Linked DNA regions of Homo sapiens: region 1 is linked to region 2. The links are contacts of gene promoters, found by promoter capture Hi-C in human tissues and cell types (Jung and others, 2019). All regions are on one chromosome and are shown on one strand. The core of a region is centred on a gene start or on the middle of the fragment in contact, and the rest is flanking DNA. Distances in the headings are between cores, read along the strand shown.

The links. The method cuts DNA at HindIII sites, captures the fragments that hold promoters and counts their contacts. A contact is called where the count stands out against the background at its distance.
Region 1: a contact is called between a fragment that was not itself captured here and the fragment with the promoter of SDK1 in region 2, in 2 of the 25 tissues and cell types used here (IMR-90 fibroblasts and dorsolateral prefrontal cortex).

Annotation. Positions count from the first base shown.
Region 1 is chr7:3,777,017-3,779,716 of GRCh38, forward strand. The region is part of intron 4 of SDK1 (sidekick cell adhesion molecule 1); the gene reads left to right. Among named protein-coding and RNA genes, the nearest start is that of SDK1-AS1, 430 kb to the left of the region's middle. The HindIII fragment of the contact is 3,678 bases long and covers 1-2,700 here.
Region 2 is chr7:3,299,955-3,302,654 of GRCh38, forward strand. It overlaps SDK1 (sidekick cell adhesion molecule 1), which reads left to right and starts at 1,298. Exons shown (of 45, transcript NM_152744.4): 1 at 1,298-1,930. The coding sequence starts at 1,633. It overlaps SDK1-AS1 (SDK1 antisense RNA 1), which reads right to left. Exons shown (of 3, transcript XR_001744897.3): 1 at 2,275-2,700. RefSeq lists enhancers at 1-377, 378-889, 1,599-2,099 and a silencer at 775-1,324. The HindIII fragment of the contact is 11,292 bases long and covers 1-2,700 here.

The DNA.
Region 1 (2,700 bases), core at 44-2,543, 480 kb after region 2:
AGCGCCTCAGATACCTGCTTCCTCACTGGTAATTGTGATGATATTTTTCTCTAAAATCTATTTTGTAACTCATTCTTTCTGATTTTACTCTCAACCCCCTTGGCGCTTACATTGGATGAGATAAAAGTGTCACTGTAGGGCTGTAAACTTTGTTGTGATGAAGACTCTTGAGACGTAAAATGTATGCTCTAACTGCAGACCTGTGCAGAACGCGAGTTTGATCTTCAAGTGACTTTCGTTCCAGCCTTGATATTCAGATGCAGTGCACTAATTTGCCCTTATTGGCATCCTGTTTAATAGATATTCCTAAGCCTTTTTCCAAATAGTTGCATGTTTGAGGAAGACTTTATGGCTATCAAAGTGTTTACTCATATAATCCAGTTTGATCCTCACCTTGTGAGATCGTCAGGGCCGGTAGGATGGTTGTCATTTTACAGATGAGGAGACATTTTCTGATGGGAATTAGCCAACCTGTGGCTGAGCTGGAACCAGAACCCAGGCCTGTGTCCTTGTACTCAGGTTGCCACAGCATTCCTCCTGATGTGCCCAGCAGCAGGCTTCTAAAGGACCTGAGCCCCCTCTGCCAACAGTGTCCCCTCTTAGCTACTGGTGTGATATGTAGCTGTGAGTCCAGGGTGGGTATTCACATATTTTCGATTGACCACCAGCTTAAAACTTCCCATGCCACACCACACTGCCCATCTATATATTACTTTGCAATCATTATCATAAGCTTAAAACTTCCCATGCCACACCACACTGCACATGTATATATTACTTTGCAATCATTATCATAAGCTTAGAGACTTTACAGAAAGTCGTCCTTAAAGTGTTGCTAAAAAATATAGGTCAATTACAAAAGGAGACATGGTCCTTTTCTTTTTTCTTCTCCCCTAATTATAAACAATAAAAGCCACAGCTTCATGCTGAGAAAGGATCAGCAGGGAATGATGGACATTGTGATTTGGCAGCTGACATTTTCTAACATGATTTTGTTTTACATAAGTAGTTTGAAGTTTTTGTTGGTTATTGTCTTGCCTTCCTTTCTGACAAAGTAACATTTTTTTTGCCCATAAAAATCAAGTAGAGCAATGCATTTCCCATGCCGTCGTGTCTCCCATCTTGTAGCAACCAGTAGTGTATAAAATGAAAGTCTTCCCACCTTTAAGCAAATGTTTGTTTTCCTTATTAAGAAAGAAGTTTCATTTGAAGCTGGAGGTTTTTTTTTCCTAACTTATATTAGTCCATATTTTAATAGTAGTTTCCTAAAGAAAATATCTCAGCATGAAAAAGCAAGGTGATACTATATTTTAGAAAATGCCCTCATGGCTTAGATTTTAAAACTAATGCTTTTGTTAAGTGTTTTGGCTTTGAACAAAAAGCCTCCTTGAGAAACGCTATTTCCCATTGCACGGTTTCTTAACTCTCTGGGTTAAAGTTCGTATTTTCTATCTTTTTACATCTGGCAAATAGACCCAGAGAATGTTTTTGTTTCATCTAACAGTTATTTCTACAGATCTGACCAGGCTGCCTGCACACATCTATATTTTTACACTGACAGCATAAGTGTATGTTTTGTATTTCATTGTAGCGAAAGCACTTCACGTATGCTTATAGTAGGTTGAAGTATTTTTAGATCAAACGTGAATCCACCATGTTCCGTAAACTAAAATATATTTAATCTTAACAGAGTATACTTGGCGGAATGGCTGACTTTAAACATAAGCTTAAACAAAATGATGAGTTCATAATTATTTAATGTAAACTGAATAAGGTTGAAGGGCCCTGCAGGGTCGATTTCAAAGTGCTTCAATGATTACAAATTATAGACCGCCTTTCCAGTAAAACACTACTCAGGTGGGAGACTAGCTGGCAGCACTATAAAGTACCTAAATGGTTTCAGACTAAAGAATCTGTTAGTTTTGTAGGTTTAACATCCTTGACACTTAATAGGATTTGAGATTCCATTGTAGCAGCAGCTTTTATTGCATGACACTTTAATTGAATGCCTTAGAGTAAAATGAAATTAACAAAGGCAGTATTAAATTATGGATGTTCCTTTTTTATCATTTGGCTAAGAATTCTGCGGAGTTTCTTTTCTGATTATATTATTTTAAATTGATTGATGTGAAAAAATAAACACACTATCTTTAGGACTAGGTATACCATCTGGTCCAAGAAATTGTGAATAAAATGAATACAGAGCTGGAGTTGGCCAACTTGTCTCTCCTACGCTTCAGAAAGCAATTACGTTAGGGCTAGAGTAGTTTAAAAATGGCCTGCAATAAATCCCCATTCTTGAGTGGATAAGAGCAAGGCAGCTCCGTCTTTTGCATTGTAGCTACCAGAATGACAACGTATTCTGAGACAGATGGGAGACATCGAACAGTAGTTGATTTTTGTTTGTGAAGTGGTGTGGCAAAGCCAGTAACCTATTTTTTTTAAAAAAAAAAAACAAGGACAAATTTAACCAAATCTGACCTGTTTATATTTAAACATCGGTGATTGGAAAACCGTTTTCATATTTGGATATTGACGATCTTTATATTGCTTCTCCTTTTCTCTAATACTATTTAAAATAAGAATCTGCAACTAAACTAAAATATTCAAAAAATAATAAAGTTAAGATGATGAGTCCGGGCGCGGTGGCTCACGCCTGTAATCCCAGCACTTTGGGAGGCCGAGGCGGGTGGATCATGA
Region 2 (2,700 bases), core at 48-2,547:
CTAGCATGGTGTGGAAAGGGGGCAGATGGGAGGCCTCTTTCTGAAACCACCTCCTGTTCGGCGGCTGTACTTGGACCTCAGTTTCCCTGTTTTGTTCACGTGGTCATTGTTAAGTCTTAGGGGACGTGTACAGAGGCTAATATTGAGCCACCAATCAGTTATTTGACAAATACCATAGGCGCTCTGTGAGCAGGAGCTGGCTCCTATCCCAGACCCCAGCCCTGTGACCTGCTCTCCACTCGCCCGGGGTCTTTCTTGGCTGGGACAATAAACCTACTGCATCAGGTGATTCCTGGGGAGTCAGCCCCGTGCTGGGCTCACACCCAGCCCCTCTGCGTTCATCTCTTACATGATCTCATGCGACCATCATCACACGTCCCCAGGCTCCTCCCGGGCCAACTCCAGAGGCAGTGCGTGTCACCTCCAGCTCTCCTCCCACAAAAATGCTGGCCTTTCAGCCTCCAGTGCGCTTAGTTCACCCCATAAACTCTGCTAATGCTTACCACATGCTGAGCGTCGGCGCCCGTCCCCACCCCCAGCCCCACAGGCTCCCGGGTCCCGCCCTGGGAGACCCTCCCACTGGCCGACCCTGCCCCAAGACTCGCCCACTCCACGGTGGGAAACCTGCAATGTGTCCCTCCCTACCCCGCCCTCCTCCAGCGCCGGCCAAAAGTGACCTTGGACGCTTCTACAATGCCATATCCACTCCTCTGAACAGGAGGCGAGTTTGCACCCAGTGGTGCCTTTGGTTGCTAGAAATTAAAAACCCGATTGCGCGTGTTTGCAATTACGGTAACTTGGCGCGTCACCCCCAAGCACTGAGCTAGCTGGTGGTAGCCGGGCGCCTCTCGGGGCGCGCCCTATTCCGCCCTCGGCCCTGGGCTGCCGCACGATCTGCGCGTCCTGCTGCACCTGAGCCCTTCCCACTCGGGCGCCCGCACCGCTGCGGGGCCGGGCGAGGATGCACCACCCCCGCCCGCGAGCCCGCCACGGGAGCGCGTGCCGAATCGACGCCGCCTGCAGTCCCCACTACGGGTCCCTAGGGGGCGCAGCCGGCGCGGGAAGCCGCCCGAGCCAGGCGCCGCGGCCGGCACAAAATTGCAGGCGGGCGGGCGCCGCGACTTTGAAAACAAGCGAGGGCCTGGGGGGCGGGCCCTGGGAGCGGGCGCCGCCTCCCTCGGCCAATCAACGGCGGGCGGCGGGCGGCGGGCGCGGGCGGCGCGTGCGGCCGGGCTGTGAATGGGGAGCGGCGGCCGCGGCAGCTGAGGGCGAGCGCGACCGCGACGTGCGGGCGGGCGCACTTTCTTCTCAGCGCCGGGCGGGGGCGGCGGCGGCGGCGGCTCCTCCGCGCCCGGCGGACCCCTCGGAGCTAGCGCGGCGGGCTCGGGACTGCGTGAGCGCCGGACGCGAATTTCCCCCGTTGACAACTTCTTCTCGCCCGGCTCGTCCCCGGCCCGCGCCGCGCCCCTCACGCGGGGACCCAGGACGCCGCCCCTCAGCGCTGGGCGGCCGCTCACCTCGGGCCGGGGGGCGCCGCGCCTCCCGCGGAGTGGCCGCGCCCGCTCGGAGCCGTCCCGCCTGTCCTGCCCGCCCGTCCGTCCGGCGCGGCGCTCGGGGTGGCGGCTGCTCGGCATGGCCCGGGGCGCCCGGCCCTCGGCGGCCGGTGGCGGCGGCGGCGGCGCGGAGCCCCCTGAGCGCGCGGGCCCCGGGCGGCCGCGGGGATCCCCGCCCGGCCGCGCCCGCCCCTCGCTGGCGCCGCGCCCCGGCCCGGAGCCCTCGCGACCCCGGGCGGCGCCCGAGACCTCCGGCGGGGACACGGCGGGCGCGGGGCGGTGCGGCGGGCGGCGGGCGGCAAAGTTGGGGCCGGGCCGCCGCGGCTGGTGGGCGCTGCTGGCGCTGCAGCTGCACTTGCTCCGGGCGCTGGCGCAAGGTAGGTGCGCGCGGGGTCGCGGGCCGGGGGCGTCGCCTCGGGGCGCGGAGGCGCGAACTTGAGCAGCGAGAGTGTGTCCGGGGTCCCCCCGCTTCCCGGCCCGGGTCGGGATGCGCCTTGCTGGGGGCTCTAGGGAGCCCAGGGGCTCCTCCACGCCAGACTCGGAGGAGAGGGAAACGGAGCCCCGTAGAGCCTGCACCCCGTCTGCTACTTTGCGTTTTATTTTTTTTATACCGCAGTAGCACAAACAAAAATTTTTAAGTTGAGGACCCATTTCTCAGCTCCTTAAAAGGATGCCCGAGTCCCCTTCCCATTGCATGGATGAAAAAGGGGCTGGTCTGTACCTGAGTCTTCGCACCGCAGGGTCTGGTTTCCGGTGAGTGACATCCAGAAGACTTGGAAATATCAAGTGCCAGTCGCTGTGAAAAGCCTTTTCCAGCCCCTCCCCAGGGCCTCGTCCTCTCCCCAGCCCCCGCCTGCTCCTGACTCCCCCAAGTCCCAAAGCCCGACCCCAAGTGGGTGCTGCGCGGCCGGTGGAGCAAAACTTTCAGTGCCCACAGCTTTTGCACTTGGCTTTGTTTTTCTCCCTCTATTGGCTTCTGTTTAGAATACAGTGGTGAGCTCTGAAATAGGGAAAGAGGATCTGCTGAATGGAAATGACCTTTTGAAACGAGAGATGGGATCTCTTGTGAAACGAGCTTTCCTTCCCAAATCTGGGCTTCCCTCCACCCCCTCCCCGCCCCCGACAAAACCCGTAACGTACCCCTGCC